2 separate regions of the Homo sapiens genome follow, and region 2 is linked to region 1. The links are contacts of gene promoters, found by promoter capture Hi-C in blood cells and fetal thymus (Javierre and others, 2016). All regions are on one chromosome and are shown on one strand. Each heading gives the region's core, a stretch centred on a gene start or on the middle of the fragment in contact. The rest is flanking DNA. Distances are from core to core; before and after follow the strand shown.

The links. Contacts are between HindIII fragments. The CHiCAGO score rates a contact against its expected background, and 5 or more counts as called.
Region 2: a contact is called between a fragment that was not itself captured here and the fragment with the promoter of GATD3 in region 1, in 2 of 17 cell types (naive B cells and total B cells). The highest score is 7.3, in naive B cells.

What each region holds. Positions count from the first base shown.
Region 1 is chr21:44,131,089-44,136,671 of GRCh38, forward strand. It overlaps GATD3 (glutamine amidotransferase class 1 domain containing 3), which reads left to right and starts at 2,595. Exons shown (of 7, transcript NM_004649.8): 1 at 2,595-2,750; 2 at 3,014-3,066; 3 at 4,972-5,085. The coding sequence starts at 2,610. PWP2 (PWP2 small subunit processome component) reads left to right here. Exons shown (of 21, transcript NM_005049.3): 21 at 1-93. RefSeq lists enhancers at 2,095-2,622, 2,623-3,150, 3,151-3,678. The HindIII fragment of the contact is 13,325 bases long and covers 1,253-5,583 here.
Region 2 is chr21:44,233,185-44,238,767 of GRCh38, forward strand. ICOSLG (inducible T cell costimulator ligand) reads right to left here. Exons shown (of 7, transcript NM_015259.6): 2 at 5,264-5,304; 3 at 3,683-4,033; 4 at 2,088-2,378. Among named protein-coding and RNA genes, the nearest start is that of ICOSLG, 5.0 kb to the right of the region's middle. The HindIII fragment of the contact is 4,588 bases long and covers 1,107-5,583 here.

The sequences.
Region 1 (5,583 bases), core at 1,345-3,844:
GGTTTGATAAAGAACTTAGGGATTAAAAAAAAGATGGAGTTTTCTAACGTGAGGATGAAGTCTACACTTCAGATTAAAAAGGGTTATGTTGTATCCTGCTGTCTTGTGGGGGCTCAAGACCTGCCTGCCTTACCACCAGGGCCTCCGTCCTGGGGAAGCAGGCTGACAGAGCAGGGTGCTCCTGCTGTCTAGCGGGGGCTCTGCCTTGTGACCTGTGCATATCCTTGGGGTCAGGGGCACAGAGCCTCTCCCTGACCTCTTGGGGATGCTTTGGAGTCTGGGGCTGGGATTGGCCTGTCTTGGTGAGCTCACTCAGACCTGCACCAGCTCTGCGTGGGCCACACGGAGGAGGAGACAGCTCCTCCCCTCTGCAGTGCCCTTGGGAATAGTCATCATGAGAGAGGCTTGGGTCTCCATCATGGTAGGGCATCCTGGTCCCCACAGCTCAGTAACAGCAGCCTCCAGGGTCAGGACCTGAGGCTGACACTGAGGTGGGCACTTCACCGACTGCCAGTGCTGTCTGCCAGGCCCAGCCTGTCCCTCGCCAGCGGTGTGGCCCCCAAGACCCTGGGTAGTACCTGGCTCCCTTGCTTATCTGGGAAGTGGAGCTGATATCTGCCTGCCGGCCTCCCGGGGGTGGCGTGAGGCCAGATGTGCTAGAGAGTGGAGATGAATACGACAGGCAGTGCCTTGTGGCCCACAGCACTGTACCTGCAGGCCTGCAGACCAGAGGTCTTTGTAGAAGGGAGGAGCTCAGGCCCTGATGACACCAGGTGTTCTGTGGCTGCACAATCTCCGTGACCCAGACGAGAGAGAATCCTTAGCTATCGCCTACCCAAAGCACAAGTTCCAGTGTTCCCCTCCCTTGCCTCGCCCTTTTCCGTGAAACAATTTCCAGCGTTCCCCCTCCTCGCCTCACCCTTTTCTGTGTCACATGTGCATGGCGATGGACACCTGAGTAGTCGCCCCTGGGACAACTGGAGCTGCGGCTCTGCAGTGGGGTCTGGGAGCTCCCGGCCAGGGGCAGCTCCCGCACACTTGGTAGAGACAGGGTCCTGGCCCCCACACCGACTGAGTGAGAGTCTGCATTCGGCATTTCCTTTCTGAGTGGCGCTTGGTGTTTTTTTGTGCCATCCCACAACCCCATCGCTCCCACCAGCTGATGCTCCCTGGCTGGCCGCTCCCCAGGAGCTGAGAAGCCTGAAGAGGGCCAGGCACGGAGGAGCAGGAACGAGGACAGTCAAATGTGCCAAGCTTGTCTTTGGTTGTAACTGGTAATGTCCCATGTCTGTTATTCTAGTTCCCCACTATCTTGCAAGGATTGGCAGTAAAGTCCTAGTGATGGACAACGCGGCAGTGGGGAAAGTGACAGCCGTGGCTAGATCATCAGATGTGTCTGTAGAATCCGGTGTGTCCCTGTGAACATCCGCCAGCAGTAACCATTCACATTATTTCAAAAACCTGCATTATTAGGTTGAAAATGGGTAAATCGGGGAAAAAGCCAGCACTTATCCAGCTATTCCTCTGTGAACTAACCCATGCATAACAAACAGATTTTTTTAATGGAAGAATTCCAGCTAGGACCCGAGCAGCTGGGATCTTCACACTGACCGTCCATGCTGTGAACGTAAAAAACAAAAACAAAAAAACAAACCCAAACAGCGCCCGGGAATGGTGGCTCACGCCTGTAATCCCAGCACTTTGGGAGTCCGAGGCGGGCAGATCACCTGAGCTCGGGAGTTCAAGACCAGCCAGACCAACATGGAGAAACCCCGTCTCTACTAAAAATACAAAATTAGCCTGGCGTGGTGGCGCATGCCTGTAGTCCCAGCTACTTGGGAGGCTGAGGCAGAAGAGTCGCTTGAACCTGGGAGGCGGAGGTTGCGTTGAGCCGACTTCGCGCCATTGCACTCCAGCCCGGGCAACAAGAGGGAAACTCCGTCTCAAAAAAAAAAAAAAAAAAACCCAAACAGAATCGGCGGCTCACTTGCCCCCAGACTAACCCAGATCAAGCCCCTGGGTGGAACTGCAGTTTCCAGGATACAACATCCCGGGGTCAGTAAAACCCGGAGGGGTCGCTCCGTGGGAGCCGGAGCCGCGAGGAGACAGTCATGGAAGCGGAGGGGTAGTCCTGACCCCGCGTGGGTCCTGACGCCGAGATTAAGACGAGTGGCCATTTAGGAGGATGTGGACCCTGGACGCTCGTGGTGAGTTAAGGATGAGACGGAGGTAAGGTAAGAAGCGCCGGACTGAGCCGCCCCGAGGCAGCCTTGCTCTGCGGATGGCGGAAAGGGTGCGCCGCCTGTGGAGGCGTCCGATGGGGGCGGGGCTGGGGACCCCGGGAGTCACCAGCATCCCTCAGCCTCGAGCACGAGCCCTCAGCCACCACCGGAAGGAAGACAGGGTTCCCGGAACTCTATTCGGAGGCTCTGCGCAGGCGCGGCCCCCGCCCACCGGCGAACTCACTGGATAGGGCTGAGACGGGGGCGGGTCTTGGCTCCGCCCAGAAGGCTGCGCAGGCGCAGTCCCGACGAGCAACGCGTTTGTAGAGGGGTGGGTGCGCACGCTCTGTCCCTGCGTGACCTTCCGACCCCGCTGTCCTCACCGCAATGGCGGCTGTGAGGGTCCTGGTGGCCTCGAGGCTCGCTGCGGCATCTGCATTCACGTCCCTGTCCCCCGGCGGTCGGACGCCTTCCCAGCGCGCAGCCCTTCACCTCTCCGTGCCGCGCCCCGCGGCCAGGGTCGCGCTGGTGAGTGGACGGAGGGGGTGAGGTCAGCTCCCGCCTCCAGAGATCAGCCTTCGCTGTTCTCTGCCCAAGGTCGGCCCCTCTTCCTAGGTCCGCTCCCGCCGCCCCACGTCGGCTCCTTCACCCCAAGTCAGCTCCTGCGGCCCAGGTCGGCCCCATTTTCCCGGGTCAGCGCCCGCGGCCCAGGTCGGCCCCTTTCCCCCCAGTCAACTCCCGCCGCCCAGGTCGGCCCCTTTCCCCCGGGTCAGCTCCCGCTCCTCTCGCAGGTGCTGTCTGGATGCGGAGTCTACGATGGGACCGAGATCCACGAGGCCTCGGCGTAAGTCCTCAGGGGCAGCTGGTCCTCCACCCCGGGGGCCTCGAGAAGGCCTCTCCACCAGTGAAGTTTACTCTTTTTTGAACAGCTTAGAGAAAGCATGTATTTTATTTTATTTTTACTTTTTGTCTTTTGAGACAGCGCCCAGTCTGGAGTGCAATGGCGCGATCTTGGCTCACTGCGGCCTCCGCCTCCTGGGTTCAAGCGATTCTCCTGCCTCAGCCTTCCGAGTAGCTGGGACTACAAGCATGCACCACCACACCCAACTAATTTGTGTATTTTTGGTAGATACGGAGTTTCACCATGTTGGCCAGGCTGGTCTCAAACTCCTGACCTCAAGTGATCCTCCCGCTTTGGCCTCCCAAAGTGCTGGGATTACAGGCATGAGCCACTGCACCCGGCCGAGAGAGCTTGTATTTTAAATACCCTATTCTTGGCTAAAAAAAAGCAAAAACGACTTGCAAAACCCAGGGAGACGCTAAGAAAGAACAGTTTTTAAGTGTCGCTTATGCTGTCACCTAGAGCCTAGAAATGACTTAGCATTTCACTTGAGTGTTTTTCAGGACACACACATTTTGAAAACACTGAGATCACACTCACCCGTGTTTTGCAAATGTTTCTGACGCATGGGAAGTAATTCCCATTCATTCAGTTCTCAACATCATTTTAACAGTTGCGTGGTATTTCTGGGTCCTAGACAGGTTACTGTTTACGTAACTGGTCAGCTGTTGCTGAGTGCTTGGTGGCCTGATTTCCTGTGCTACTGGAAATGACTGCAGGCCGAACCAGTAGGGCAGGAGGCCACCACGCGTGCCAGGTACCTGTAGTTCCCATGTGGTTCAGGGTGAACTGGAGAGGGGAGAGCTGGGTGGTGGCGAAAGGGGTGTCAGGCCATGGAGAGTGGCCTGAGGCTGGTGGCTTTGTGGGTGGCCCACCTTGGCTGGTTGGAGTTGGCACTAGGCAGAGTGAGCTGGGGGAAAGGGCCAGGATGTGTTTCATGATTTGGCCTTGGTGGGATAGAAAATAGCCCCAGAATAGCTTGAGCCCTCCCAGGCAGAACGGCAGGGTCTTGTGTCTGGGGTGTCTGGGTGGATTTCTTATGGGTAGCGGAACCCAAGTGCCAGGGCCAGGTGCTGACCTCTCCCTCTGGCAAGTCACTGCACTTCATGCCTCGGTTTCCTCCTCCACGTAAGGGGCAGTGAGGGCTTAGTGTGTGGGTGGGCTTAGCCACCTATCTCCTGTTGGCACTGGGAGTTGCGGATGCCAGCGTGAGCCCCCATAATGTCAGCTGTTGTCCCCAGGAGGAGCTTCTGTTGCCCTTGCCCTTGGGGAGATGGAGCTGCCTGGCCTGTGGTGTTGTCCTGGGGTCTCTTGTGTCTCTCCCACCATCTGTGATGGGAAAGTTGAGGGAGACTAGAAATTGAACTAAGTAGTGACCGAAAGCCCCGTCACACCGTCTGTGCACGTGGCACTCTGAGCACACTGCTGCTTCTCACTCTTGGTGCTTGCAGCAAGCAACTGGAGGAGGGCAGCCAGGCCCTGGGTGTAGGTAGAGCACTCAGCAGCCGGGGACCCGCACGCCTCCAGGCTGTGCCCTCAGTGGAGTCACCCGGCCCCCATACCCCAGTTTGCAAAGGGAGCTGTTGGGACCAGCTGATCTCCATAGCCCACTTCTGAGGGTTTGTCATAGTCGTAACCCACCAACCGACAGTGAATTGGAATGGGGGTGTGGGGGACGTTTGGCTTGGTATGGAACCAACTGTAACTTTTTGCAGAGCAAGTAAGATATTAATATACATTAGGAATTTGCTCCTGGTACTTAGCTAAAATCCTGTTTTTAAAAATGTGTTAACACAAATCTGAGTGGGGCACGTTTTGAAGAGTTGTCTCTGGTTTTCCCCCGTGCAGGATCCTGGTGCACCTGAGCCGTGGAGGGGCTGAAGTCCAGATCTTTGCTCCTGACGTCCCTCAGATGCACGTGATTGACCACACCAAGGGGCAGCCGTCCGAAGGCGAGAGCAGGTGTGGGGGTGGGATTGGAACTTGCTTCTTGTCTACCTCCCACGGTGCAGCCTTTTTTTGCTGGCTTAGCTTAAACCAAGTCTTGTGTGCAAATGAACGTCCTTCTGAGCAGCTGTGCTCGGGCTGTTCCAGAAGTAATGCTGCCAAGGCTCAGGAGTGCCTTCCTTCCAGTACTCACAGAAGGACTGAAAATGGCGACCGGATCGCTTCCCACTGAGTCAGGCTGCTCATACCTTGGTCTTAAGCAAAGGTGGTGGTTCTCAGCTTGGTCGCCCACCTTCTTCCCCTGTCTGGGCTCCAGATCTGTTTTGCTGGTTCCCAGCAGCATGTCTGTTACTGCGGTGTGTGTGGTTCTGGCCTGTGTGGCCTGAGATCCCCTTCCCTTGCCTGTCCTGCCTGACAGCCCTGTGCAGGCCATTCCAAGGTGCCTTCCAACTGGCCTCGGACCACGAGAGGTCGGAGCTGGAGATTCGAGGAAGAAGCCATAGCTGCCTCCTG
Region 2 (5,583 bases), core at 2,151-4,650, 100 kb after region 1:
ATGGTCGTGTCCATTTCAGATGGACTGTGAGCCCGTGTCAGCAGCAAGAAGGAGCAGATCCAAATGAGGGGGTCTCAGAACAGCTGGGGCCTCTAATTTTTCTCTTAAATTTTGTTCTCATTTAGTGCTTCATGGCACTCCCTTCAAATTTCACTTTTAAAACTCTAGCTTGGACGTGGTGGCTCACACCTGTAATCTCAGCACTTTGGGAGGCTTAGGCAGGAGCATCGCTTGTGTCCAGGAGCTTGAATCTAGCCTGGGCAACACAGTGAGGCCCCATCGCTACAAATAATCAAAATTAGCCAGGCGAGGTGCATGTGCCTGTAGTCCCAGATACTCAGGAGGCTGAGGCAGGAGAATTGCTGTCCTCCTGCACCAGAAGCCTCCAGTTGCTTTGTGTCTCAGTGGCTCACCCTATTCTGGACACTTTGCATAAACAGAGTCCCACAGGCTTGTCCTCAGGTGTCTGGCTCTGTCACTCGCATAATGGCCTTGAGGTTCTCCACGCCGCAGCGTGCGTCAGGACAGCGGCCTCCTTCCTTTTTCAGGCTAATTCTCCCCTGCACGCATGGATCACGTTTGGTGCATCCGTCCACCCACGAGGAACACTCGGGTGGTTCCTACCTTCTGGCTGCCATGAACATTCACGGACAGGCATTTGTTTGAGTCCCTGTTCTGAATCCTCTGGCCTATATCGCTAGGAGAGAACTGCTGGGTCCTGCAGTGCTTCCACGCTGAGCTTTTCGAGGAACTGCCACAACGTTCCCCATGGCAGCTGCGCCCTTCTGCTTTTCCGCCACGATGCACAAAGCTAACAATGCCTCTGGTCTCTGTGTGCAGTGCCCTTCAGAGAGCCGTCCTCACCGGCAAACAAGCAGCGGCATCCCCCTGGGAGCTTGTTCTGAATGCCCGGCGCGTCTCCAAACACACTTGGAGAAACCACCTGGACGGTGCTCAACCTTGAACCTCTGAAGCTTTTAGACACTGTCCCGATGCCAGGTGCCAGCCCAGAGCTTCAGGTGCAATGGGTCTGGGCATGGGGGCTTTCATAGGCTGCCCAGATGACCCCACTGTGTGGCCGGGGTTGAGACGACAGCCCTGGGAGAAGCTTCTGCTGCCACCTGGGCTGCTCTGCGGGGAGTATGCTGGCTGGAAGGCAGTTATCAGAGGCTGCTTTGGGAGCAGCCCCTCATCCCGCTGCATGCAGCTCAGACACTCTGAATGTTGAGTCAGAAGGGCTGAGCCCTGATTTCAAGAAGGAGAAGGTCCGGCTCTGCCGGGGATCCTGGCGGCCAGGGTGGACTTCGAGGGTATGACCTGTGCAGGCTTCTGGGGTTGAGCTCAGAAAGGCCGGCAGGAGGTGCAATGCTTGTGGTCACTGTCTGGAATTCTTAATGCTCCCGAAACAAGGAGCCCTGCATTCTTGCTTTGCCCAGGGCCACACGGTGAGTCCTGCTGGCAGCCCCTTTCCTGCAGCCAGCAGGGCCCCAGGACCCCTCCTCGATCATCTCCTGCCTCCATCTTCTGCCTCTCATCCTGACACAGGAGATGGGGACACAAATGGGGAGGGCCTGTGTCCTCTACAAAGGAGTCCCCGTAGAGGAACCCCTTCCACAGGGCACCCCTTCCACAGGGAGGGGCTGGGCCAGCAGCCGTGCGCAGTGGGATTCCCGTGTCTGGGGGCTTCAGTCTTCTCAGGGGACACACGCCCAAGAGGCAGGGAGCTTGGGTGGGGGCTGCACAGCTGTGGGCTTCTGTTCTGGGCTGCTGCTGCCTAGTGCTGCGGCTTCTGAAGTGTTACCCAGCCTCAGAGTTCAGCCCTCATCTGTAAAGTAGGTTTAAGAAAACCGACTCCAGGTGAAGAAAATGGAGCAATATGCACTGGGCACGGCACCCATTCCTGTTCCCAGAGACCGCGGTGGTTCTCACTGTGCGGCATGTGCCTCTCACCTCCCCTCCCTTCCAACCACCTTTCGGGTGCTGAGCCGCGTCGAAGGGACTTTTTGTCTCCTACCTCAGAGGCTCTCCCAAGCCAGCCCTGGCCCCACTGTCGGGCACAGCTCAGCACGCAGGCGCCGGGACCTTACCTGTCTGGCTGCCGACAGTCAGGTTCTGCTGCAGAAGCACGTTCTCTATGCAGCAGCCAATGTTCACGCTGGGGGTCCGTGCGATCCTCAGCACGCTGACCACGTCATACAAGCCCCGCATGTTCAAGAAGACGGTGTCATTCTGCAGAGCCTGGTCCAGCAGGCTGTTGTCCGTCTTATTGATCCAGTACACGTTGGGCCTGGGGTAGCCGTTTATGGATGTACACGTGAAGGTGAGCTCATCCTGGGAGGGGCTGTGGGGGGCGCTGACGACGGGCACGCTGAAGTTTGCTGCAGGGGAGGGAAACAGATTGTGAGAGATGCCAGACCCTGCTGGTCAAGAAACAGAGGGTACACGGTGCCAAGGCTGGGTCAGAGGGGAGGCGGCCCATTGTGCCCCGACATGGGTGACAGGCCAGGACCAGGGCTGTGGTCCGAGCAGCAGGCTCCGCCCTGTCCTGCCCAAGAGTCATCCCCCAAGCCAGTCCCAGTAGCCAGGGACCGCTGAGCCTGTCGGGCAGTGACTGGCACCCACAGACCCCCCACTCCACAGCCGTCGGCTGTGCCGGGACCCCCTCATTTGGATCTGGTCATTCTCACTGCTGACACAGGGGCTCACAGTCCATCTGAAATGGACACAGCTGTTCTCCCCAATGAACTGCCCAGAGCTCCTTGGTTGCCTCTTATTTTTCTCTTAAATTTTGTTCTCATTTAGTGCTTTATAGAGTTCCCTTCAAATTTCACTTTTAAAACTCTAGTTTGGATGTGGTGGCTCACGCCTGTAATCACAGCACTTTGGGAGGGTGAGGCAGGAGGATCGCTTGTGTCCAGGAGTTTGAGACCAGCCTGGGCAACATAGTGAGACCCCATTTCTACAAATAATCAAAATTAGCCAGGCGAGGTGGCATGTGCCTGTAGTCCCAGATACTCAGGAGGCTGAAGCAGGAGAATTGCTTGAGCTCAGGAGGTCAAGGCTGCAGCGTGATCACGCTACTGCACTCCAGCCTGGGCAACAGTGAGACCCTGTCTCAAAAAACAAACTAATTGGCCAGGCGCGGTGGCTCACACCTGTAATCCCAGCACTTTGGGAGGCTGAGGCGGGCGGATCACGAGGCCAGGAATTTGAGACCAGCCTGGCCAACATGGTGAAACCCTGTCTCTACTAAAAATACAAAAATTAGCTGGGTGTGGTGGCACGCGCCTGTAGTCCCAGCTACTCGGGAGGCTGTGGAGAATTGCTTGAACCCAGGAGGCGGGGGTTGCGGTGAGCCAAGATTGTGCCACTGCACTGCAGCCTGGGTGACAGAGCGAGACTCCGTCTCAAAAAACAAAAACAAAAACAAAAGCTAACTAACTCAAGAGGCAAAGACAGCAAGGGTAGGAGCTCTTCCGGGAAACCAAGCAGCCGCAGGTCATGCACTAAGGATTTTTCAGCTGTTTAGTTTCCCTCGAAGTTAGACAGAAGCCTGATAACACAGATGAGAATTTTCTTCACTGGAAGAAACAGTGAATGAGCCAGGGAGGGGGTTTCATGAACACTTGTCCACGATGTGAGGCTGGGATGGACCTAGCTCTCCCCGCCTCGATGGTCCTACCTGCCACATGCAGTGTAACCTCAACGCTCAAAACCTCCTGGAATCCCAGGGATTGGCTCAACACCAGGCAGTGAAACTTCTGCTCGTCCTGGGGGGTGACGTTGAACAAGCGCAGGGAGAAGTCGCCCCGCAGCATGCCGGCCGGTGACATCAGGGCTCGGTTCCGGTAGCGGCTGTCCACGTTTTCCAAGGAGCTGTTCTGTGGGATGTGGTAGGTCACCACGGTTTTCGACTCACTGGTTTGCCAATATACGTAAACATCATTTAAATCAAAACGGCTTCCTTCAGGGCAAGCGCAGCTGAGCTCCACGTCGCTGCCTACCATCGCTCTGACTTCCTTCTCCTGAGTATCTGCAATGGCCCAAAAGGTGCAAAATCTGTTTTCGGAGGCTGATGCCCAGGCCATGAAGCTACTCTATGGGGCAGACTTTGGGTTTCAAGCCTCAAACACCAACGGTGGCTCAGAATTTATTAACAAGGCACATGTAGGAATGCAGTCAAACTTGAAAAACGCAGACATTTCATGGTGAGGTCCATGTCAGTCTTTGGCTTCGATGACACACTCCTGTTATGTAAGGGGCTGCCATGGGGAGGAGCGGCTGGATGGGGCCTGGCCGCTCAGTGTTATTTTTGTTACTCAGCACTACTTTTACTACTTCTCGGGAGTCTATAATTAATGCACAATAAAAAGTTCTTTAAGGGAAAGGCATTTAAGGGAAAAGAATTTCTCAGCAATTACATTATATTGCTGCTCACTTGCAGTAGGAAAGCTGTCACAAATGTGGCAGACACAGGGTAGCTTTACTGTTTGTGCAGCTACGTAAATGCCTGTGGGAAAATCTTTTTTTTTGAGATGGAGTCTTGCTCCGTCACCCAGGCTGGGGTGCAATGGCGTGATCTCAGCTCACTGCAACCCCCGACTCTGGGGTTCACGCCATTCTCCTGCCTCACCCTCCCAAGTAGCTGGGATTACAGGTGCCCGCCACCATGCCCAGCTAATTTTTTGTATTTTTAGTAGAGATCGGGCTTCACTATGTTGGCCAGCCTGGTCTCGAACTCCTGACCTCAGGTGATCCACCCGCCTTGGCCTCCCAAAGTCCTGGGATTACAGGAGTGAGCCACTGCACCTGGCACCTGCAGGAAAATCTGTGTGTGTCCCCTGCCCCCAAAGCCCTCTGGGCTGGAAGGCTTGGCAAGGTTTCAGGTTTGTGCTGCGGTGCTTCGTCCTTATTCCTGGCTCTTCCAGAGGCTGGTGGCTCTTAGGGCTCAGCAGGGCTGCTGCCTGGGACAGGGAGACCAGGGGACCCAGGAAGCCCTGGCTCAGAGGAACTGCATTCTGCCCGCAACAAAGACGGAGTCAAACAAGAACTCCGGAGTTTGCAGAAGTGTTTCCCTTTAAGGAAACGCTTCTATCCTGTGCAGCAACCTAGGTTTAGGGTCCAACTGTCTCCAAAGGACCACTTGAGAAGCAAGAAGGAGCCTGGTGAGGCTGCTCCCAGTGCCCTGCGGCCAGCAGTCCACACAGCCGGAGAGCCCATCTCTGAGCTGGGCGCCCCATGGCAAAGCACCCCCTGAACTTACCAGCTCGAAGGCTGCTGAAGAGCAGGAAGAGCAGTCCAGGACTGGAAAAAACAACCAGAAAGGCAGGTGAGGCGGGGCCACCAGGGAGTTACCTGTATCTTCCAAACAGGAACAGGCTGGTTCCCATGAGCAGGAGGTAGTTAAGCCCATCACAGAAATGTGAAGGCAGAGCCAGGAGCCTGCCTGCCTCTGTTCTCCATGGGAATTCGGGGTCCGGGGCCAGGACCACCACCCTCCTGCCCAGCACAGCAAGTCCGAGGGGCTGGCAGCCTCTCACCACTCTCTAGCTCTCGCGGTAACAAATCCCCAGAAACACAGTG